Regions from separate parts of the Homo sapiens genome. Here regions 1, 2 and 4 are each linked to region 3. The links are contacts of gene promoters, found by promoter capture Hi-C in blood cells and fetal thymus (Javierre and others, 2016). All regions are on one chromosome and are shown on one strand. The core of a region is centred on a gene start or on the middle of the fragment in contact, and the rest is flanking DNA. Distances in the headings are between cores, read along the strand shown. Region 1 overlaps TBC1D2 (TBC1 domain family member 2). Region 2 overlaps TBC1D2 (TBC1 domain family member 2). Region 3 holds the start of NANS (N-acetylneuraminate synthase). Region 4 holds the start of FOXE1 (forkhead box E1).

The links. The method cuts DNA at HindIII sites, captures the fragments that hold promoters and counts their contacts. A CHiCAGO score of 5 or more calls a contact.
Region 1: a fragment that was not itself captured here is called in contact with the fragment with the promoter of NANS in region 3 in 9 of 17 cell types (total CD4 T cells, naive CD8 T cells, non-activated CD4 T cells and 6 more); the score reaches 12.6 in total CD4 T cells.
Region 2: a fragment that was not itself captured here is called in contact with the fragment with the promoter of NANS in region 3 in 9 of 17 cell types (total CD4 T cells, non-activated CD4 T cells, activated CD4 T cells and 6 more); the score reaches 14.2 in total CD4 T cells.
Region 4: the fragment with the promoter of FOXE1 here is called in contact with the fragment with the promoter of NANS in region 3 in 3 of 17 cell types (monocytes, neutrophils and naive CD4 T cells); the score reaches 6.3 in monocytes.

The regions. Positions count from the first base shown.
Region 1 is chr9:98,233,396-98,239,138 of GRCh38, forward strand. It overlaps TBC1D2 (TBC1 domain family member 2), which reads right to left. Exons shown (of 13, transcript NM_001267571.2): 4 at 21-154. It also overlaps the pseudogene LOC100131625. Among named protein-coding and RNA genes, the nearest start is that of MIR6854, 7.0 kb to the left of the region's middle. The HindIII fragment of the contact is 3,205 bases long and covers 392-3,596 here.
Region 2 is chr9:98,211,418-98,217,728 of GRCh38, forward strand. It overlaps TBC1D2 (TBC1 domain family member 2), which reads right to left. Exons shown (of 13, transcript NM_001267571.2): 7 at 1,691-1,801. Among named protein-coding and RNA genes, the nearest start is that of MIR6854, 15 kb to the right of the region's middle. The HindIII fragment of the contact is 416 bases long and covers 1,887-2,302 here.
Region 3 is chr9:98,054,452-98,060,042 of GRCh38, forward strand. It overlaps NANS (N-acetylneuraminate synthase), which reads left to right and starts at 2,281. Exons shown (of 6, transcript NM_018946.4): 1 at 2,281-2,489. The coding sequence starts at 2,358. It also overlaps a transcript of TRIM14 not described here. RefSeq lists enhancers at 1,790-1,839, 2,880-2,999 and silencers at 2,030-2,379, 2,460-2,629. The HindIII fragment of the contact is 20,554 bases long and covers 1-5,591 here.
Region 4 is chr9:97,848,927-97,855,284 of GRCh38, forward strand. It overlaps FOXE1 (forkhead box E1), which reads left to right and starts at 4,300. Exons shown (of 1, transcript NM_004473.4): 1 at 4,300-6,358. The coding sequence starts at 4,989. The coding sequence ends at 6,110. It overlaps PTCSC2 (papillary thyroid carcinoma susceptibility candidate 2), which reads right to left and starts at 4,154. Exons shown (of 11, transcript NR_147055.1): 1 at 3,990-4,154. RefSeq lists an enhancer at 2,767-3,268. The HindIII fragment of the contact is 6,931 bases long and covers 2,368-6,358 here.

The sequences.
Region 1 (5,743 bases), core at 744-3,243, 180 kb after region 3:
AGCCCTGGACAGAGGCTCACCTGGGGTGCTGGCGTCAGAGGCCAAGGGCTGCTCCTCCCTCTGAGGCTCCCCACTCTGTGGAGAATCTTCCCCTGGAGGTTCATGGCCTGTTCCCTGGGCCTGCTTGTTGCCACGGATGTTGTGCATTGTGTTCCTGAAAGGAGACAAGAACAGAGGAGCATGAGGCTGAACCCTGCCTTTCTGCCCTTCTGTCCTTCCCGCCACCACTGCTGGAGCTCAGGTCTCATCCCCACACCCTGTCATCCTGACTGGTCTCCCAGACTCCAGGCACCCTACATGATGCCTCCCCATGCATGGCACTCCCAATCTCCTTTACCTATCTCTTTCGCATTCTCATCTTCCACACACTATGTGGCTTATAAGTAATACAAGCTTGACTTCCTTAACCCCCACCCCTGCAGCTGGAATATAAATGCCATGAGGCGGAGGTATTGTCCGTTTTGTTAACTGATGCACCTACAATGCCTAAACGGTGCCCAAAACATAGAAGGTGCTTAATATGGGTGTGTTGAGTGAATGCTGAATGGACTTGCTGAACCAACTTTCCCGAAACCTTCATCTGGTTTCATAACTATCTGGCTCAAAAACCATCAGTGGCTCCCGACTTCTGCTGAGATAAGTTGCAAACATCTCCTGGCATCTTTCCCTGCTTGCTCTCTTTCCCTGCTCAGATCTGTCCTCTGTGCAGCCTTCACTGACCATCTCATGGCCTCCAAGGGGCTTAGTGTACTTCGCAGCGGGGTCACCCTTTGGCCAAGTACTTGTCTAGGCTGAAGCCTCATGATGTCATTTCTTTAAGAACCGGGTACTAACCTACCTGCATGTTTGCTGGTGCCCAACACTGGGTTGTACATGCCAGAGACCGGGCTCAATACATGTTTGGTTTATAGAAGGGAACTAGATAGTACCAAAGGCTGACCTAAGATCACAGACCACAGAGAAGTTCATAATGAGCTGGATGTAAAAACAGTTCAAGGAGTTTATTTTCCCTTGCAAAGAGATAAGATTAATGACAGGGAGGGAAAATGATGAAAGGAGTTCACTAGGTCAGTGTATTTCGAACTGAAAGTTCCCACTCATTGGTAGATTGTAAAATCAGTTTAGTGTCATGACCAGCATTTAAAAAATGAAATAGAAACTATCAGGGCTGCTGCCACCTGCCTGCATCCACCTGTGTTGCATCGGAATCCTGAGGAGCTGTTGGGTGGTCCAGACCAAGGCTGGCTCGTGTGGAAGTCATCCTTGCCTCTGTTTGCCGACCCTCCCATCCATCCTGTCTCCCAGTGGTCGTCATGCGGCGCACATCTCCTGCCTGCTGTACTAGTTCCATTTGCTCTTTTGGAAGCAGGAGCTAGAACTGACGCTTGTGGGGCTACAGGACTTAGGCCAAGACCAGCTTTGTGAATATCACTGCGTCAGGTCAATTTAGTGAAAACATGATACCCACAGTGAGCTTCGACACGAGGAAAGTAACTAAAGGTAACATCACAGTAAAGATCTGGGATATGGCTGGGCACGGTGGCTCACGCCTGTAATCCCAGCACTTTGGGAGGCTGAGGTGGGTGGCTCACGAGGTCAGGAGTTCAAGACCAGCCTGGCCAGGATGGTGAAACCCCGTCTCTACTAAAAATACAAAAATTAGCCGGGCGTGGTGGCGCATGCCTGTAGTCCCAGCTACTCGGGAGGCTGAGGCAGAGAATCGCTTGAACCCGGGAGGCGGAGGTTGCAGTGAGCTGAGATTACGCCACTGCACCTCCAGCCTGGACGACAGAGCGAGACTCCATTTCAAAAAAAAAAAAGATCTGGGACATAGGAGGACAACCCCAATTTCGGAGCATGTAGGAACTATATTGCTTAGGAGTCAACGCTATTGTTTACATAACAGATGGTGCAGATCGTGAGAAGATAGAGGCCTTGAGAAATGAGCTACGTAATCTAGATAAACCACAGTTACAAGGAATTCCAGTGCTAGTACTTGGAAGCAAGAGAGAGATCTTTCTAATGCCTTGGATGAGAAACAGCTAATTGAAAAAATGAATGTCTGCTATTCAGGATAAAGAAATGTGCTACTATTCAATTTTTTGCAAAGAAAAGGATAATGTAGGTATCACACTTCAATGATTTATTCGACATTCAAAATCTAGAAGCTGAAGCATCTCCTGAAGTCTTCCAATCCTTCTCAGCTATAATCCTAGAATTATTGTCTGTTTCTCTAAAGCACTTCCCAAAATACGGTCCTTCCTAACCCCAATAAATTGTCTTTTTCAGAGTTTATTTCTCATGTGCATTGCTGAAGATGTGTATCCCTAATCCTTCATAAGAATCAGCAAGTTGTCGGCTGGGCACGGTGGCTCACGCCTGTAATCCCAGCACTTTGGGAGGCTGAGGTGGGCAGATCACGAGGTCAGGAGTTCGAGACCATCCTGGCTAACACGGTGAAACCCTGTCTCTACCTAAAATACAAAAAAATTAGCCATGTGTGGTGGCGGGCACCTGTAATCCCGGCTACTTGGGAGGCTGAGGCAGGAGAATGGCATGAACCTGGGAGGTGGAGCTTGCAGTGAGCCGAGAAAGCGCCACCTGTACTCCAGCCTGGGTGACAGAGTGAGACTCCATCTCAAAAGAGGAAAAAAAAAAATCAGGGAGTTGTCATGATCAAGTCAGCACATACAAAACATACACATATCTTACACATACTTGTCTTAAACTGTATAGAGCTTTTTAAAATTTTATTTATTAAAAAAAAACAATTGACCATCTTAACTCAAGAAGATTGCATATTTCCATCCTGGTCTTTCTGGGCCAGATTTTTGTTGTTGTTGTTTGAGATGGAGTCTCACTCTGTCACCCAGGCTGGAGTGCAATGGCACGATCTCGGCTCACTGCAACCTCCACCTCCCAGGCTCAAGCGATTCTCCTGCCTCAGCCTGCCGAGTAGCTGGGATTATAGGTGCCCACCACCACACACAGCTAATTTTGTATTTTTAGTAGAGACAGGGTTTTGCCGTTTTGGTCAGGCTGGTCTCAAACTCCTGACTTCAGGTGATCCACCCGCCTTGGCTTCCCAAAGTTCTGGGATTACAGGCATGAGCCACCGTGCCTGGTCTGGGCCAGATTTTTATATTGGTTTTCAGTAAATGTTTATCTATAACATTTCATTATAGAGTCCAGTAGCTTGATACTGATACTGACTTGATACAGCATGAAGTTTCTAGTGCCACACACAGTTTTTAGAAAACCTTTAAGCCTGGCTCATGTGGGATATAAACATAATGTTTATCTTATCTCACAAATGTATGTGAAATGTATAATTACACCTTAGGAATCCAAAAATGGTCTGCAAAGAGTGAGCGGAGGCACCAGATCAATGTTGTTGGTTCTTTACACTGGTGAGATTCTACTTGATGAGTATTAAAAACACTGCTTTCTGAGAATTCTTTATCACAAAATAGCAGTTGGGGATATGGGAGGAACTAAGGCATGCTTTGTATCTGTGTAGATCATTACTTCCATTTTTTTTTTTTTTCCTCATTCAAAATACTTTTCATGGGGTTGGGAATTGATTATTTCTCCAAAGCTTTTATGAATTTAAAGCATGCCAGTTAAGATAATAAAATCTGTTAAGAATGTCAGACTTTGGCCGGGTGCAGTGGCTCACGCCTGTAATCTCAGCACCTTGGGAGGTCAAGGCGAGTGGATTGCTTGAGGCCAGGAGCTCGAGACCAGCCTGGCCAACATAGTGAAACTCCGTCTTTACTAAAAATACCAAAGTTAACCAGGCGTAGTGGCTCATGCCTGTAATCCCAGCTTCTCGGGAGGCTGAGGCAGGAGAGTTGCTGAATGTCACTTGAACTGGGAAGGCAGAGGTTGCAGTGAGTGGAGATTGCGCCACTGCACTCTAGTCTGGGTGACAGAGCAAGACTGTCTCAAAAAAAAAAAAAGAAAAAAAAGAAAGTCAGGCTTTGCTGAAAAAAAAGAAAGAAAATATCAGAGTGCACCCCACTTAGTGCACCTTGCAACAGCACCACTGTCTGGATTACTATAGCTTTGTAGTAGTGTTGATATTGGGAAGAGTGCGTCTTCAAACTTTTTTTTTCTTTTTTTTTTTGAGATAGAGTCTTGCTCTGTCGCCCAGGCTGGAGTGCAGTGGCACGATCTCGGCTCACTGCAACCTCCACCTCCCAGATTCAAGCGATTCTCCTGCCTCAGCCTCCTGAGTAGCTGGGATTACAGGCGTGCACCACCATGCCCGGCTAATTTTTTTTGTATTTTTAGTAGAGACGGGGCAAACTTTTTTTATTCTTCAAGATTATTTTGGGTACTCTGGGGCTCTTGAATTTCCAGGATCTTGAATTTTAGGTTTAACTTGTTAATTTCTGTAAGGAAGCCACCAGAATTTTGATGGTGATTATATTGAATCTGTAGATCAATTTGGGAAGTATTGTCAGATTAATAGGTTAACAATATTAAGTCTTTTTTTTTTCTTTTTTTTCTTTTTTTTTTTTGAGACAGAGTCTCACTCTGTTGCCCAGGCTGGAGTGCAGTGGCACAATCATGGCTCACTGCAGTCTCTGCCTCCCGGGTTCAAGCGATTCTCCTGCCTCAGCCTCCCAAGTAGCTAGGATTACAGGAATGTGCTACCATGCCCAGCTAATTTTTGTATTTTTAGTAGAGACGGGATTTTACCATGTTAGCTAGGCTGGTCTTGAACTCCTGACCTCAAGTGATCTGCCCACCTTGGCCTCCTAAAGTGTTGGGATTACAGGCGTGAGCCCCTGCGCTCAGCCTAGCAATATTAAGTCTTTTGATTCATGAACATGAGATATCTTTCCAGCTACTTAAGCCCTTTTTTTCAACAATGTTTGGTGTTTTCAGAGCACACATTTTGCATCATTATGTCAAATTCATTCCTAAATATTTAATTCTTTTTCTAATATTGTTATGGAATGTTTTCTTAATTTTATTTTTGGGTTGTTTATTACAGGTGTATAGAAATACAACTGATATTTCTATATTGATCTTGAATCCTGCAACCTTGCTGAACTAATTTCTTAGCTCTAATAGTTTTTCCTTAGGATTTTCTGTAAACAAATATCATGTCAACTGCAAATAAAGATAGTTTTACTTTTTTCCTTCCCAATCTGGATGCCTAATTTCATGTTCTTGCCTAATTGGCCTGGCTAAAGCCTCCAGAACAATGTTGAATATTCCTGATTTTAAGGGGAAAATATTCAGTCTTTTACCATTAAGTATGTTAGCTTTGCATTTTTCATTGATTCCCTTTATCAAGCTGGGGAAGTTTCGTTCTACTTGTTTTTTTTGTTTTTTGTTTTTTGTTTTCTGAGACGGAGCTGCTCTGTCGCCCAGGCTGGAGTGTAGTGGTACAACCTCCGCCTCCTGGGTTCAAGCAATTCTCCTGCCTCAGCCTCCCAAGTAGCTGGGACTACAGGCCTGTACCACCATGGCCGGCTAATTTTTGTATTTTTAGTAGAGATGGGATTTCACCATATTGGCCAGGCTGGTCTCAAACTCCTGACCTCAGGTGATCCACCCACCTCAGCCTCCCAAAGTGCTGGGATTGCAGGCATGAGCCACTGTGCCTGGCCTCCTTCTAGACTTTTAAAAAAATTATTTATTTATTTATTTATTACTATTATTTAGAGACAGTGTCTCACTCTGTCACCCAGGCTGAAGTGTGGTGGCATGCTCATAGCTTACTGCA
Region 2 (6,311 bases), core at 845-3,344, 160 kb after region 3:
CCTGCACCCTCTTCCCTTGCTTGGGACACTCCCCCCAACCCTACCTCACCTTGAACTTTTGTGTTTACATTTATACAAGCTGGGTGGTGCTAGGCAAGTCAGGCAAGTTCCTTGTTTTCCATTTTTGTGAGATGGGGACAGTGAAAATCCACTCATAGCACTGCCATGATCTCTGGGCCACCCCGAATCCTATCTCATCCTGGGGTGGCAGCAGGGGAACAATTCTGTTGCACCCTTGCCCGGTCGCCATCTCCAAACACTTGCCGGGCACCAGCTCCAAGCCATCCTCTGTGCCTGTTCTTCTACCTATCCCACCTGGTGCCCACCTCTGTTGCCTGGGCTGCTTCCTGAGTCCCATCGTTAACACCTGTTTCAGGGATTCCTTTTTTTTTTTTTTCCTGAGAGAGTCTCGCTCTGTCATCCAAGCTGGAGTGCAGTGGCATGATCTTGGCTCACTGCAACCTCTACCTCCGGGGTTCAAATGATTCTCGTGCCTCAGCCTCCTGAGTAGCTGGGATTACAGGTGTGCACCACCACGCCCAGCTAATTTTTGTATTTTTGGTAGAGGCGGGGCTTCACCATGTTGCCCAGGCTGGTCTTGAACTCTAGCCCCAAGGGATCCACCTGCCTCGGCCTCCCAAAGCGCTGGGATTACAGGCCTGTGCCACCGCACCTGGCCCCTTCTCAGGGATTTCTGCTGCTGATTCCAAACAATCTCCCTACTTCCAGGCCCACCTTCTCAAGCCCACCCTCCTGAGCAGTCACAGCAGTCTTCTTGGAACAGGAACAGAAGTCTGATTGAGGACTTCTCCACTCAGAATCCTTCAGCTCCCCAGTTTCCTTGGAGTAAATTCCAAACTCCTCAACTCCAGCCTCATGTCTCACTCTCCCTAGCCCTGCCCCCCACCTCTCAGACCACACGTCTTTACTATGCTGTCTCTTTTCCTGGAAGGTCCTTCTCCACTGCTTGCCTGGATAACATTAACTCATCCTTAGGACTCAATTCAGAAGGTACCTCCTCCAGGAAGCCCTCCCTGACTTTCCTTCCTCCCTTTGGGCCCCCAAGAATCCCACAAGTCCAAGTGCATCTTTTTTTTTTTTTGAGACAGAGTCTTGCTCTGTTGCCCAGGCTGGAGTGCAGTGGCGCAATCTCGGCTCACTGCAAGCTCCGCCTCCCAGGTTCACGCCATTCTCCTGCCTCAGCCTCCCGGGTGGCCGGGACTGCAGGCGCCCGCCACCATGCCCGGCTAATTTTTTTTTGTATATTTAGTAGAGATGGGGTTTCACCGTGTTGGCCAGGATGGTCTCAATCTCCTGACCTTGTGATCCACCCGCCTCGGCCTCCTAAAGTGCTGGGATTACAGGTGTGAGCCACCACGCCTGGCCCCAAGTACATCTTGATTGGGTTACACTCCCTCACTAGTCTATACCCTCCTTGTAGGCAGGAACCAGCCTTATTGGTCTTGATGTCCCTACCCCACAGCTACTCAGTGAACGCTGCGGAACAAATGACTCAATCCCCCGACCACAGGGGTCTGGAGAAGAACCTGATATGGGCCCTGCTCACAAGGGGTCAGTTCAGAGGGAGAGGGGCAGACAGGAAATGAGGAGAGTGAGACGGAGTGGGCAGCATGGGGACCAGCAGAGGGGCCAGGGATGGAGACGGCTGGAATAGGGCCCCACCCCGCACCTTCGTCAGAAGGGCCTTCTCCTTCTCAGCCACCTTTCTCCAGATCTTTGTGACCTGGTGGATCTCGGAGTTGAGGAAGCAGTTCTGGGTCCGGTAAGCTTCCATGTCATCCTGGAGAAGAGAGTAAAATATGTTATCAGTTGGACATAAACATCTCCCTGGTCCTGGGGAGTCACACCCTCAAATGAGCCCCCAAAGCTTCTTTTCCTTAGAAATTTCCAATAATGGCAACAGAAGAGGAAGTCTGAAAGAAAAATAAAATACTCATAGCACCCTTCTCTATTCTTGATGTCAGCATGATGTGGTAAAGGGACCAGTAGGTCTGAATTTAAGTCCTGGCTGATGTTCTGGCTGGAAGGCCTCAGGCAGGCCACTGAACCACTCTGACCCTCTGTTTCCTCATCTGTAAAAGGGGCAAATACCAACTAACCTACTGGGCAGTTGGGAAACTAAGTGAGATAATGTGTGACAACACTAAGTACAGGGACCAAAACATAGCAAGTGCTCAAGTAGTGTTTGTTTTTAAAATCAACATATTTTATCATATATTTACAATCATACTGTAAAATTAACTCAGTGTCACTTTGTAAAACCTTTCAATGTTGCTACATAAGCTTCCCAGTGATCATTTTTAACCTCTGGTGATGATTCTATTGGGTGAATTTACCAGAACTTACTCATAATCCTTTTCCTGTCATTTTTTAATTTGAACCTGGGGTGTTTGCAGTTGGTTTTTGATTATGAATAATGCTGTGATAAACATCTCTGAGTTTTCCTTTTGCAAGTTGCCCATCCAGTGGAGGGAATGAGCTCCCTGCTGCTGGGGCATACAAGGAGAAGCCAGACAAGCACTGGGAAGGTTCAAGCAAGGACCTGAGCCTCAGAGAAGGATCAGCTATAGCAGTGGCTCTCAATTCTGCTGGGATGGACATTACAGAAGCCGTTCAGTCACGTAACACATTCTTAGAGCTATACCTCACAATTCCAGGGTATTTACTGGCTGAAACTCAGGCCCTTTCTCTCCCATTGATGTATGGGCTGGAGGTGAGTGCAAGCGATGCTGCAGCAAGGATGACTCCGACATGGCCAGGTTGATTTGGAAATGAAGAACATCACATGTGCAAGCGATGCTGCAGCAAGGATGACTCCGACGTGGCCAGATTGATTTGGAAATGAAGAACATCACATGTGCAAGCGATGCTGCAGCAAGGATGACTCCGACGTGGCCAGGTTGATTTGGAAATGAAGAACATCACATGTGCAAGCGATGCTGCAGCAAGGATGACTCCGACGTGGCCAGGTTGATTTGGAAATGAAGAACATCACATGTGCAAGCGATGCTGCAGCAAGGATGACTCCGACGTGGCCAGGTTGATTTGGAAATGAAGAACATCACATGTGCAAGCGATGCTGCAGCAAGGATGACTCCGACGTGGCCAGGTTGATTTGGAAATGAAGAACATCACATGTGCAAGCGATGCTGCAGCAAGGATGACTCCGACGTGGCCAGATTGATTTGGAAATGAAGAACATCACATGTAGTTTGGGGCACATCCTCGTCAGGGTCACATGTGCACAGCCCACAGGTGGTCCTGGCCCTCCCTGGGTGGGTCTTCACTCTGGCCAAGATGATCTCCAAGGTCTCCCCAGGCTGGAAGCTCCGATGCCTGCCCAGGGGCTGCTGCCCTCCGCCCAGAGCCTGACACACTAGAAGGGCCTCTGCTCCCAGGGGAGGGAACGAATGCCCCCTGTTGACTTTATCACATCACCCCTCACCACTCCACGGGGGCTCTCTGTGGTGCCCCAACCCAGGCCACCCCTGCTTTCATCTCCCTCGCTGTGCCAAGGCTGAAAGGCTGTGCATCCACTCAGCTTGCTCTCTGCCTTCTGGCTGGACCCAGGCAGTTCCAACCCCTGGCGCCACCCTCCTCCCCCTATCCAATCCTGTCCCTGACCTAGATAAAAAACCAGCTTCACTGCCTCTCAAAAATGCTGCTGTGTGCGCCAGCCGCTCTGCTGGCAAGTTTCTGCCTGCTTCTTCTCCACAGTCCCCATATCCTATCCTTATGTGGCAAGAAGTGAAAATCTTGTTTGTGGCACAGGGACCAGTCTCCCATGAGCATCAGGCCTTTCCTGGACCACTCCCCACTCTCTCTGGAGTCTAACACTTTACTGTCTGGAGATATAGAAACTTATGAATACAGAGGCTGTGCAGGCTTCCGGCATCACCCCCATCACCAACACCACGCAGCATATATTCTCTCACTTCATCCTCCTAGCAACCCTAGAAGGGATGTTCTTTTATTATTCCTATGACACAGATGAGGCCTCAGAGGCTCTGAAAGGGTAGGCAACTTGCCTAAGGCACAGCCAGTATAAGGCAGATGTGACCAAACCCAGGTCTGTCTGATTCTTTTTGTTTGTTTGTCTTGCTCTGTCGCCCAAGCTGGAGTACAGTGGCGTGATCATAGCTCATGGCAGCCTCGACCTCCTGGACTCAAGCAATCCTCCCACCTCAGCCTGTCAAGTAGCTGGGACTATAGGCAGGCACCACCATGCCTAGCTAATTTTTTGATTTTGTAGAGACGAGGTCTCACTATGTTTCCCAGGCTGTTTTCAAACTCCTGGCCTCAAGCAATCCTTCCACCTCGGCCTCCTAAAGTGTTAGGATTACAGGCATGAGCCACTGTGCCTGGCCAGGACTGTCTCATTCTAAAGCCCTAATCACCAAACTTCCTGCCGGGCACCATCTGAGCTCCCCACCAGCTGGAATCCACCTGGATGCCCACACTCTAGTCCCTACCCTCCAAGCGTTGTCCTTTGGTGTCTCCTGGCTACACGCATGCAGGCTTATGTGACCTCTCCTACCCATCAGACAGTATAACAACACATCAAAGACGCTGGAGTTGGCCATGTACCGGCACCGCCTGGTGGTCAGTGGCATGAATGCTGCGGGCACGCTGTCTGGGTGGAAATTCTGTCTTGACCACTGAGCCCCTGGACAAGTTACTTAACCTCATCCTCTCATCTGGAAAATGAGGATAATAACAGTACTACCTCATGTGGCTGGGAGAGGATTCAGTGAGTTAATATGTGCAAAAGGCTCAGAACGGTGCCTGGCATGTGGCAAGTGCAACGTGAGCGTGAGCATCGTCTCCCTCACTGAGTTTGCATGACAGCTCGAGAGCTACTATTCCCCACCCTGCACCCACCCCCTCAGTCGGCTCACAGAGTTCGGAATCCAATGCCCGGGAAAATACAACAAGCCCCCCCGCAAGGGAGGAAAGGACCTACCATGACCTGACCCATCTCCCTCATATCCACAAGGCTGTGGGATAACTATTAAAGTGCCCTAATTCCCATTTAACAGATGAGGAAACACACACAGAGAAAGTAAGTTCCCCTTGTCACGAAAGAGAGCCAGGATCCAAACCCAGGTGTGTTCAGCCCATGGCAGGTGCTCAGCAGACACTGCGTAGAGAAAGCAGACCCAGCTCTGGCGCTGGCCACTGCTCCACACCACTGGGTCTCCCTCCTTGATATCACCCCTTCCTCCTCCCAGGCCTAGATGTGCTCATGGATATTTATTTATTTTTCTTTCTTTTTTTATTTTTAGAGAAAGGGTCTCACTTTGTCACCCAGGCTGGAATGCAATGGCATGATCATAGCTCACTGCACTCTTGACCTCCTGGGCTCAAGTGATCCTCCTGTCTCAGGCCCCTGAGTAGTTGGGACTACAAGTGTGTGCCACTACACCCAGCTAATTAATTTTTAATTTTTTAAAAAGGTCTCATTATGTTGCCTAGGCTGGTCTCAAACTCCTGGCCTCATGCAATCCTCCAACCGTGGCCTCTCAAAGCACTGGATTGTGAGCCACCACGCTTGGCTACACACTGTTATTTCTAAGGCTTTGGAAAGAAGGCTTTTGTCACATAAGATACCCTGCTTCCAGCTCTAGGGAAGGCACAGACATGCCGGACAGGGAGGCAGAGTGAGCACAGCCTGGAACAGCAGTGGCAGTGGGTGGCGTCGGGCAGTACCTCCCCCTCCAGCTCGATGCCCTACCTTGAGTGCTCGTCTTGGCTCAGAACTGTAGGGAGGAAAAAGAGAAACCTCAGAAAAGAGAAAAGCCACAGGACAGTCACCAGTGGAATGAAAGAAGGAAAACCCTGGAGAAGGGGGACCAGGGAAGCAGGAGCCCGGGAATTCTCTTTGGGCCATGCCCATGGACTAGGCCCTGTGCTGTGTGGAAGGCAGTGGCCTGGGCATGGGAGGCCAGGTTCCGGCTGTAGCCCTGCCTCTTGCTGCCTGACCCTGGGCCAGTCCTTCTCCCTTGCCCCAGCTCAGCTGTCCCTGCCAGAAAATGAGTGGGGCAGACTAGATTTCTGAGTCTTTCCAGATCTGATATTCAAGAGGTCAGTGATCCTGTTCTCAAAACCAAAGTCTGAATAACAAGGGGCATTCCCTAAAGTTGGGTTCCTCAATCACAGGGCAGGCAGGAAACCTCAACATTCTCTGTCCTCAAACTCAAGACAATGGATATTTGATGGGTATTCTAAAAGCTAAAAACTAAGGAACACCAACTACATGCAACTCTTTCTCTTTTTTATTTTTTTTTTAA
Region 3 (5,591 bases), core at 1,031-3,530:
AATTGGGAGAAGGAAAGGGGTGTTGGCAGCACCTAGACTACTCACCAAATCAGACACCCCATAATGGGGCTGCAGCTGCAGACAATCCATGATGGGGCTACAAACAGACACTGTGATAAGGTTACAGTTACAGGCACCCCATGGTGGAGCTACAGAGGGACACCTTGCCATGGAGCTCTAGTTATGAGATATCTCCCCAGGACAATTTCTCTATTGCAAAGTGTACTCCATACATATTGGGCTAGTAGTGCCCTGCCGATAGAGATGACGCCAGAGTCAGCCCCCAGTCCAAAACTAGGTGGCCGCTTGGGCTGGCCTCTGGATCCATCGCCAGAGGGGGTCTACAGAACCGGGGCAGGTAGCACAAGAGCAATCCCGAATGAGCCCCCAAATTTTTAACTGCTCAACTGGTTCACCATGCCCACTACCTACACAGCTGATTTATCAAAATAGGGGAATTGCAATAGAGAGAGTAATTCATGCAGAGCCAGCTGTGCAGTCTGGCTGAGTTTTATTATTACTCACATCAATTTCCCCTAGCATTCAGGGATCAGAGGTTTTTGGGGTTTTTGTTTGTTTGTTTTTGAAATGGAGTTTCGCTCTTGTTGCCCAGGCTGGAGTGCAATGGCACAATCTCAGCTCACTGCAACCTCCGCCTCCCAGGTTTAAGCGATTCTCCTACCTCAGCCTCCCAAGTAGTTGGGATTACAGGCATGCACCACCATACCTGGCTCATTTTGTATTTTTAGTAGAGACAGGGTTTCACCATGTTGGCAAGGCTGGTCTCGAACTCCTGACCTCAGGTGATCCACCCGCCTCAGCCTCCCAAAGTGCTAGGATTACAGGTGTGAGCCACTATGCCCCACCTTGGAGATCAGAGTTTTTAAGGATAATGTGGTGGGTTAAGAGAGGCCAGTATGCCAGGAGTGCTGATTGGTTGTGTTGGAGATAAAATCATAGAAAGTCAAGGCTGTCTTCTTGTGCCAAGTCAGTTCCTGGTTGGGGGACACAAGATCAGATGAACCAGTTTATCAATCTGGTGGTGCCAGCTGATCCATCAAGTGCAGGGTCTGCAAAATATCTCAAGCACTGGTCTTAGGTTTTACAATAGTGATGTTATCCCCAGGAGCAATTTGGGGAGGGTCAGAATCTTGTAGCCTCCAGGTGCATGACTCCTACGTGTCTAATCTTGTGGCTAATTTGTTAGTCCTACAAAGGCAGTCTAGTTCCCAGGAAAGAAGGAGGTTTATTTTGGGAAATAACTTATCTTATTTTTTAAATTAATTAATTAATTTATTTATTTTTGAGACAGAGTCTTGCAGTGTCACCAGGCTGGAGTGCAGTGGTGTGATCTGGGCTCACTGCAACCTCCACCTCCCGGGTTCAAGCGATTCTCCTGCCTCAGCCTCTCGAGTAGCTGGGATTACAGGCACGCACCACCACGCCCGGCTAATTTTTTTGTATTTTTAGTAGAGACGGGGTTTCTCCATATTGGTCAGGCTGGTCTCGAACTCCTGACCTCAGGTGATCTGCCTGCCTTGGCCTCCCAAAGTGCTGGGATTACAGGTGTGAGCCACCGCGCCCGCCCAGGTGATTGTATTTTAAGAGCCTGGGGCTGGGAGGTCCGGGTACTAGTCCCATCTCTGCTTTGGCTTTCTGGATGGCTTTGGACAAGCCAGTGCAACTTCTCGAACCTGTTGCCTCTCATATAATAGGAACCTCCGCCACTTCTTGAAAACTTACTACAAGCCAAGTATTGTGATCAGGGGTTTCTATACGTCATCTCACAGTTCTATTTTATTTTTTTGCTTCAGAGAGAAACAAAAATAACGCTCCGGAAGACTGAGTAACGTATATATGAGCAGGAGCTGGTGACTGGCATAGGCTGGACTCGATCCAGCTCTGTGATTCTAACTCTAGCAACCCTGTTTTTTCCATTACACCATAGGGCGCGCTCTCCCCATGCTCCTGAGAGCAGGACATAGACTATGCCCTGCGCAGGCAGCCGTCCGCCTCCTGCAGGGAATGCTTGCTCCTGGGTGCACGCACGGATACCGCGATGGTCCGAGACCACGCTCTGGGACAGCAAGCCTCAAGCCTCGCACAGGAGAGGGCCGCGGAGCTTCCTCGACCCGCCCCGCCGCCCTTCCCGCGGGAGGCCCCGCCCCCGCCCCCCGCCCCGATTGGCTGTCGGGAGAGAGGCGGGGCCTAGGGGATTGGCTGCCCGGCGACCGCGGGCTGACGTGGCGGGGCTGGCGTGTGGGTCTCGCAGCGTTGCTCACAGAACAGAGTAGAGGCGGCGGCGGCGGCGGCCGGACCCAGACTGGTAGTGAGGCTTTGGACCCCGAGCCGCTGCAATGCCGCTGGAGCTGGAGCTGTGTCCCGGGCGCTGGGTGGGCGGGCAACACCCGTGCTTCATCATTGCCGAGATCGGCCAGAACCACCAGGGCGACCTGGACGTAGCCAAGCGCATGATCCGCATGGCCAAGGTGAGGCGGCAGCTCCCGGGACCCGGGATTCGGGCGCCGGGAGGGGCGGGGCGGGGCCGCGGGGAGCCAGGGCCACACGGCCTCCGCGGCTGGGTACCCTGGTCCGGCCTCTTCCCGCCCGCCAGTTCCGTTTTCGGAATCCTTCGGATCCCTCTTCCTCACCGTGTCCGCCACCCTCGTGACCTTTCTGCATTACAGCAGCTGCCTCCTAACCCGACCTGTTTCCTCCCCGTTCTGGTGCCAGAATAATCTTTCTAAAAGTCAGACTTGATCAGACCATCCCCCCTGCCTGGCACCTTCTGTGGCTCCCTCCTGCCCGCGGGTAGAGTCGAAACCCTTTAACATAGCCTTCAAGATTTTAATGACTGGGCCCCTTCCAGCCCGTCATAATTCTTCTCTGACATTCTTCAGCGACACAGAGTTACTTTCAGGAATGACAGTTCCTGGAAGTTGCTGTGGTCTCTCTCACCCGCCATTCCCTGTATATGAAATATGAAGTGGTTAAAAGCCGGGCCTTTGAGTTCAAATCTCAGTTCCACCACTACTAGCTGTGTGAACATGGGCTGCTTACTTAGCCTCCGTGAACCCTTTTCCCCATTTGAAAACGGGGCTTGAAAACAACAGTTCTTTCCACATGGAGTTGTTATGGGGATCAAATGAGATTCTCAGATAGAGCTCTGAGCCCAGCACTTGGCACACATGAGTCGGTAAATGCGTGCTCCCTCTTCTGTTGGGACTGCCATATTCTTCATTACGACCCCAGCCCCCAGCATAAGGCCTGGCCTGCACTATGATTCTTTGGTTTAGAGATAGCTCACCCCATCTTTCCTTTCCCTTCATCAATGCTACTCAACTGATTTTGTATCATTTGTGATAGGTTTTTTAAATGTTTATTTATTTATTTATCTATGTTAGAGACAGGGTCTTGCTCTGTCACCCAGGCTGGAGGTTTTCTCTTACTGTTTTTTTTTTTTTTTCCTGGTTTTTTTTTTTTTTTTTTTTGAGACAGGGTCTCTGTATCACCCAGGCTGGAGTGCAGTGGCATGATCCCGGCTCACTGCAACCTCTGCCTCCCAGGCTTAAGTGATTCTCCCACCTCAGCCTCCCGAGTAGCTGGGACCCACAGGCGTGAACCACCATGCTGGGCTAATTTTTTTGTAGAGATGGGGTTTGGCCATGTTACCCAGGCTGGTCTCGAACTCCTGAGCTCAAGCAATCTGCCCACCTTGGCCTCCGAAAGTGCTGGGATTACAGGTGTGAGCCACCACCCTCGGCCCTTGCTGTTCCTTCGGGACTGGTTTTATGGAAACCTAATCACTGAATCATAAAAATACTTTACAAAAATAACATTGCTAACATTTTTTGAGTGCTTACTCTACCAGGTACTAAGCTAAATGCTGTACATGCACCATCTCATTTAATTTTTACAACAACCCAATGCCATGATGCTGCCGATTTCATTTTAAAGGCTAAGAGAAAATAAGTGACTTAGGCAAGGTCACATAGCTAGTATAATAAATACAGTAAGGGGTTTTTTCAGTTTTTGCTCCTAAGCCACAGGACTCCAGCCTTTCTTCTGCAACATTGTTTTCTAGAGGGAAATTCCCACTCTTAATTTGAAGGAGCAGTCTGTTTTTCCTCTTGGAATGCCGAAGTTGTAGAAATATCTAGAGATACTGAAGCCATAGAAACAAAGCTGTACTGACCAGGTGCAGTGGCTGATTCCTGTAATCCCATCACTTTGGGAGGCTGAGGAAGGCAGATTGCTTGAGCTCAGGAATTCGAGACCAGCCTGGGCCACATAGCGAGACCCTGTCTCTAATTCCATTGAGCTGGAATCTAGGTGGCTGCAGCCTTTAGGAAAGGGATCTGGCCAGCTCTGCTAGAGACACTGTGCAACTTTAGTCAGGTCAGTCTGGGCCTTGGGATCTTCATCTAGACAATGAGAGCTCTGTTGCCCAAGGTCACTTTCAGTTCTAATGTTCTTTGAACTTTCCAGCATCAAGTCCTGACTCTACCATCTTATGATTTGTCTAAGAGCAGGAGTAGTGATCTCAGCACTGACATTTCTGGACCCAAGAAGTTTTTATTTTTTTTTTTCAAGACGGAGTCTCGCTGTGTCACCCAGGCTGGAGTGCAGTGGCGTGATCTCGGCTTACTGCAAGCTCCGCCTCCTGGGTTCACACCGTTCTCCTGTCTCAGCCTCCCGAGTAGCTGGGATTACAGGTGCCCACCACCACACCTAGCTAATTTTTTGTATTTTTAGTAGAGACGGGGTTTCACCATGTTAGCCAGGATGGTCTCGATCTCCTGACCTCGTGATCTGCCCACCTCGGCCTCCCAGAGTGCTGGGATTACAGGTGTGAGCCACTGCGCCCGGCAGCCAAGAAGTTTTTAATAGCATGAATACCTCTGTGTCTACAGAAATGGCCGTGAGATGGGACTTTAGTGGGTTTTAATTACTCTTTTTCTTGAGTAGATTGTTTTTGTTTGAGTCAAGGTCTCACTCTGTTGCTCAGGCTGGAGTGCAGTGGCACCATCATAGCTCATTGCCACCTCAACCTCTGGGGATCAAGCGATCCTCCCCCCTCAGCCTCCTGAGTAGCTGGGACTACAAGCGTATGCCACCATGCCTGGCTAATTTTTATATTTTTTGTAGAGACAGGGTCTTACTATGTTGCCGAGGCTGGTCTTGAACTCCTTGGTTCAAGCAATCCTCCCACCTTGGCCTCTCAAAGTGTTTGGATTATAGGCATGGGCCACTGTGCCTGACCTCTTGAGTGTTTTTTGTTTTTTTTTTTTTATAGTCAAACAATCCGGCTTTTATATTATTGCCTCTGCTCAGTAGAAGTCATCTAGGGGCTGGGGCATTTTTGTTTTGTTTGTCTGCTTTTTAACATGTAACCTGTTCAAAGAAAATGTCATGGAGAAAAGCGCCAGTGCAAAGCAGCTAAAAGCAGAGTTGCTATTGTTGAAATCAGAGAAAGAGGCATAGGGCACTGTCCCTGGATGTTCCTGTCCCTGAGAGGGCCTCATTAGGACAGTTTACACATCCTGGAGGTAGCCCAAACTGCTTTTATATCGATGGAGAAACTGAGTCCA
Region 4 (6,358 bases), core at 3,050-5,549, 200 kb before region 3:
ACGTAAGAAACGTTGGTGGCGGGATCTAAGCAAACGGGGAGGTGGGAAGCAGAAGGTTCCCCTTCCTGGGCCCCAGTTCCTCCATCCTGTCCCCTGGGTGACAGTGATTCGCTGTTCATAGTGTTTAAGTGGACCAACTTAAAGGGAGAGAGCGCTTGCCGAGCTCTGGGAAACCGAAAGGGTCCACGCCCGCGGGAGCCTCGGAGACTCAAAATCCCCCGCTAGACCGCAGAAAATGTTACACTTTAATCAACCGCTACTTCTTCCGTGGAGAGGGGCGGTGGGTGGGGGTGTGCGCATCTCATCGCGGCCTGTGAGTGGAACAGGCTAGAATTATCCCCAGCGTCTTTTTTCCATGTCCAAGTTTCGCCTTAAAACAATTTAAAAGAGGAAGAAGAGGACCGCGCGTCTGTAAGGCGCTCCACTTTATCACCTTGACTCGGTGGAAGAGAAAGCACAGATATGGGATATCCCCACATACACACTTCACAGATAGAGAAACTGAGGCCTAAGAAGGGCAGTGGATGGTTTAAAGTCGCTGGGTGGGTCTTGAGCAATCTTGGGTGGAAACCCTCACAACACTGGTGCTGCCTTACATGGATGTCTTCTGTGGTCAGCAGGACGAGTGTGACTTGGGGGCCCCCTTTTGTGACAGTGTCTTGCTCTGATGCTCTCTAGGGCCATACAGCCCACTGACCCAGACAGAATGCACTGGAGTAACCTAAACAGGTCACTGCGATGCTGCTGTAAGGAGATCCTTGGATCAGATTTGCAAGTGTGGACGCCTGGAGTTTTGTTGTTCAGTAAAAAGGGCAGCCCAGGCCAAAGAATTAAGTACAAGTAAGGCTCTGAGAACTCAAGAAAAGACAGAGAGGCTTTGGGGCCAAAGAGTAAGGCCCAAAGACCTGAGTTTCCTTCTCAGCCCAAGGCTTTTCTCTCTACAAGTCCCTTCCACAATCCAGGCCCAGTCTCCTTCCAGCTTGAATTTCCATGGTTTCTTTAATAGAAGAACTGGTTACCTCTGCGTCTGCATGCAGGGGAATCTCCGTCAAGGAATCTGGAGGAATTTTCCTTGACTCCTTGGACCCCTCTCGTTTTTATTTACAAAGTCGCCCATTCAAAACTGAGGAAAGCAGCTGTTGCAGAAGAACATCTTCTAAAGATTCCCAATAGCACCTCCAGCCCCCTATGCACATAAAATGGCCTGCTGCAGGCTGGCTTCTCCAGGGGTGCTGGGAATACTTGAAGGGCTGAAGATCAGTGGGAAGCAGAAATCACTGGCCTGCCCACATCAACACCAACCCACCCCTGCTGGATTGGGAGAATGATTTCCAAGGGTCTGGAACCTGCCCTTCCTAACTTCCAGATGATTCATAAACGTTAAGGAGCACTGTGGCAGAGAAGAGGGGAGGACTTGGCCATGACCATGTTCCTTCTCAAGAAACTGAGAAGGAAGCAATGGGAAGAGATAGGAAATGCCCCGAGGAGATTTTTGTGTATGGTTTTGATCCAAACGGGTAAACTTGTGACCTGTGTACTCACCAAATCATTTAATGTGAACTCACTGTGGACTCACAGAATCTTCAAATGCATTATTCAAAGAGAACATTTATGAAATAGAAATTTAGGGGTCCTTGGTTTGCGAAAATCTTAGAATCATGATCTTGGAAATTCTAATCTCATGATGCTAGGTATTTGGTCTCGGCCACAGGAGTAGCTTGATATTAACAAAGTTTGAGAAAACCATCAGAATTCTAGAAGAATGAGGTCACAGACACAAGACACTGAAGAACAGAAAATCCTGAGACAAGAAGGCTTTTAGCCATAGTCGTTGCAGCTTAAAAGTAGAGGATCATAAAGTCATGGGACTAATCATTACAGCATATAATCACAAACATTAGAAGAATTATTGGAATCAGATTATTTGAACTACAGAATAGCAGATCCAGCACTAACATTTTAGAATTAAGGAAGGAGAGAACTGCGGATTTACAGGATTCAAATTCTTCCAATCAGACATTCCTAAACAGGAATTCAAATTAAATAATATATAACTTAGAGTGGAAAAAATAAAAAACTGGAGAAGTGGCAGCTTCAAGAGTGGCATCATATTTTCAGGCACAAAATCTTAGGTCCCCGTTTTTTGTTTGTTTTGTTTTGCTTTTAAGAGACCGGGTCTCCCTTTGCTGCACAGGCTGGAGTGCTGTGGCTACTCACAGGCACAATGATTGTGCACTACAGCCTGGAACTCCTGGGCTCAAGCGATCTTCCTGCCTTAACCTCCAGTAGCTGGGACTACAGGCTCCCGCCACCGTGCCTGGTTTAGTCCCAGTATCTTAATACATAGGTTTTTAGACTTTGACTAGAAGCTTAAGTCAAAGGAATATAAGCATAGTCAAAGTTAGACTCCCAGTCTTGGAATCTTAGAATTACAGGGTCGCAGGATCGCAGGATCGCATTCTTTAGATTTATGGAATCACGTTAGGACAACGGTCGTCCAGAATTTAAAATCTAGATATCTGAATCTCAGAATCTTGAAAGTTACTGAGAGCCACGAAATCCCGTATTAAAAGGTGCCTATAATATAATCCAGTTAAAAATTTTAAAATTTGAAGTTTTTCCTCCTTTGTAAAAACGAAACAGGACGAAATCTGGGTTTTTTGCTTCTCCATTACTTGGGAAGAAGGAAACCAGGAGTTTTGTTTAGCGAGTGTAAAGCCCCTCTCCCTTCGTTCGACCAACCCTCTGCCGCAGAAGGTTGTCAAGCAAACGCTTTGAGCGTTTCCACACACCGGGTCGACGGAGCAAGGATCTGGGCTTTGCCTCGCTCTTCCGAAGGCAGCTGCCCAACGCTTGGCCGGGCTTAGCCTGCCCTCAGCTCACCGCCACGAAGAACGCGACTAAAACCCTGGAAGGCATGCCACCCGTTACTGGCCAGAACTCTCGTCTTGGGATCTCCCACACTCACCTGGCACCACCATCCGCGCGGCTCTGCACCCACAGCCCCGGCCCGCCCCCCCCCCCCACCCCGGAAAGCTGCGTCCGGGCTGGAGCCACTGGAACCCGCGCCAAGGCCCGGAATCCTATACGTAGCAGGGGCCTCGGAGATCAGCACACGCCCTCCAGCTGCTATTTAACAGAGTAGAACACTGAGGCCCTGCGAGGGGACAAGGACAGGCCCTGGATCTCCCAGTGAATGGCCAGGGAACGAACCCGGGCCAGAGGGGCCGCGCCGCGAGGATCTCAGGTTAGGACCAAGTTCCGGCTCAGGGACAGCAGGAAAGGAACTCAGAAATTGGACACCCATGAAGCAAACGTGTCCCGACTGCCCGCCCCTTCCCCCGGAGACGCGCCCACCCGGCCACCGCTCTCTTCCCACTCCCCCATTACCCGCAGCCCTCACTCCCCGCTGCGGGAAGGGGCTGCTTGGCTGCCTCTGGGGGTCTTCAGAGCTACCCTGGTCCCGGGGGATTGGAGGAGGAGGTTACCTATCCTGCGTCGTCTTTAATCCGTGCACCACTATCCATCAAATAGAGACAGATCCTGGGCCTCTCAAAGACGGATGATTGGGGGTGGTGATTGGCCTATCCCTAAATATCTACCACGCAAGGACTCTTGAGAGATCCAGACCCCGGTACAGTCGAGGGACCTGGGGCCCAAAAAGGGAAAGCGGCTACCTCTACCACACAGTTGGGAAGCGCAGTCCTAAAGGAGACGCAGGTTGGAGACTCCGCTAAGCGGAGAAGCCGCAGTGGGGCCATGGCAAGTCACCTTCCCTTTCGGGCCTAGGAATACTCATTCGAAAGATGGGGGGACTGGAGTGCCGAGTGGCTGTGGCAGCCACGATTGGGGTTTGGAAACCATCCTGAAAGGCCCGGGGAGCCAGTCTCCTGGAACTTCTCCCTCCCCATTCCCACAAAAACCAAGCGCCCTCTCGGCCAATTCTCACCCTCTCAGGACAAAAAAGTGAGATGAGCCCGTCCTTTCACCTGCGAGTCCAAGCCCTTGGCAGAGGCCTGAAAAGTCCGAAAACTCCGAGTTCGGGCGCTGAGGTCTCCCGAGCCGGTTCCTGAACTCTCCGGGCCTCAGTCGATCGGGGTGCGGAGGGGGCCGACCCGGGGGATCTCCAAGCGCCCTCCCCGCCCTGACGCTGTGGGGCTCCTACCGCGCCGCCACAGCTGCTCCTACCTGGGGAGGTGCGCCCGGGCCCCGGGGGGCGGGCAGTCGGGGGGCGGGCAGGGAACCGGTGCCGCCCCACGCTTCGTGGCCCCTTTAAGGAGGGGAAGCCGGCGGAGGGAGGAGCCGGTCCGGTGTGTGCAGGGGAGCGCCTCGCCAGCGGTCCGCAGGGCTGGAGACCCACGCCGTGGAGAGGACCAGCCTCAGGTCGCCCCGCCTGGGCCCGCGCCCCGACCTCGCTGCCCCCGCCTCGCCTCTCTGCCCGTGGCGCTTACGGCCACCTTGGCCTCGGGGGCAGGGCATGGGCGGCCCCCGCCAGATCGCCCAGCGCCAGTACTAACTGCCCTCGCTCTGGCCTTCGAGCCCGAAGCCTCTTCTGCGCGCACAACCTAGGCAGTAATCCTAAACTAGCGGGCACCACAGACCAGCTGCAGCCACCCCAACCCAGGGATCACTTCCGGACCCCTCGACCGCCCGGCACCAGCGCGCAAGGGACCCTTCAGCCGGAGACCAGAGTCCAGTCCCGGTCACGAGGCCACCGCCGCTGCCCGCCTCGAGAAGCACCACGCGGGCTGAGCCGTCGGCTAGCGGGTCACTCCCGAGCCTCTGTCTGCACCGCGCCAGCCCCAGACCACGGACGCTGAGCCTCCAGCGCGTGCCAGCCTGGGCCGCTGGGCTCTCGGGGCCAGCCCGCGACGATCCCCTGAGCTCTCCGCAGAAGGGCCGAGCGTCCGTTCCGGGGACGCCAGGCCCGCCCCCGCCCCCCGACAGCCGCGGGGATCCAGAGCCCGGGGGTGCGGGACGCCCGCGCCATGACTGCCGAGAGCGGGCCGCCGCCGCCGCAGCCGGAGGTGCTGGCTACCGTGAAGGAAGAGCGCGGCGAGACGGCAGCAGGGGCCGGGGTCCCAGGGGAGGCCACGGGCCGCGGGGCGGGCGGGCGGCGCCGCAAGCGCCCCCTGCAGCGCGGGAAGCCGCCCTACAGCTACATCGCGCTCATCGCCATGGCCATCGCGCACGCGCCCGAGCGCCGCCTCACGCTGGGCGGCATCTACAAGTTCATCACCGAGCGCTTCCCCTTCTACCGCGACAACCCCAAAAAGTGGCAGAACAGCATCCGCCACAACCTCACACTCAACGACTGCTTCCTCAAGATCCCGCGCGAGGCCGGCCGCCCGGGTAAGGGCAACTACTGGGCGCTTGACCCCAACGCGGAGGACATGTTCGAGAGCGGCAGCTTCCTGCGCCGCCGCAAGCGCTTCAAGCGCTCGGACCTCTCCACCTACCCGGCTTACATGCACGACGCGGCGGCTGCCGCAGCCGCCGCCGCCGCCGCCGCCGCCGCCGCCGCCATCTTCCCAGGCGCGGTGCCCGCCGCGCGCCCCCCCTACCCGGGCGCCGTCTATGCAGGCTACGCGCCGCCGTCGCTGGCCGCGCCGCCTCCAGTCTACTACCCCGCGGCGTCGCCCGGCCCTTGCCGCGTCTTCGGCCTGGTTCCTGAGCGGCCGCTCAGCCCAGAGCTGGGGCCCGCACCGTCGGGGCCCGGCGGCTCTTGCGCCTTTGCCTCCGCCGGCGCCCCCGCTACCACCACCGGCTACCAGCCCGCAGGCTGCACCGGGGCCCGGCCGGCCAACCCCTCCGCCTATGCGGCTGCCTACGCGGGCCCCGACGGCGCGTACCCGCAGGGCGCCGGCAGTGCGATCTTTGCCGCTGCTGGCCGCCTGGCGGGACCCGCTTCGCCCCCAGCGGGCGGCAGCAGTGGCGGCGTGGAGACCACGGTGGACTTCTACGGGCGCACGTCGCCCGGCCAGTTCGGAGCGCTGGGAGCCTGCTACAACCCTGGCGGGCAGCTCGGAGGGGCCAGTGCAGGCGCCTACCATGCTCGCCATGCTGCCGCTTATCCCGGTGGGATAGATCGGTTCGTGTCCGCCATGTGAGCCAGCGTAGGGACGAAAACTCATAGACACATCGGCTGTTCACACGTTCCCCGCAATCTGAGAACGAACAGGAATGGAGAGAGGACTCAACTGGGACCCACGTGGAAAAGACCGAGCAGGCCACAGAGGCTCGGTCTCCCCGCGCACAGCGTAGGCACCCGGTGTACTCTGTAAACGGGAGGAGGTGGGGCGAGGCAGCCAGAGCCCTTGGACTGGCACAGGGACCCTCGATGGAGCGAAGCCCTCAA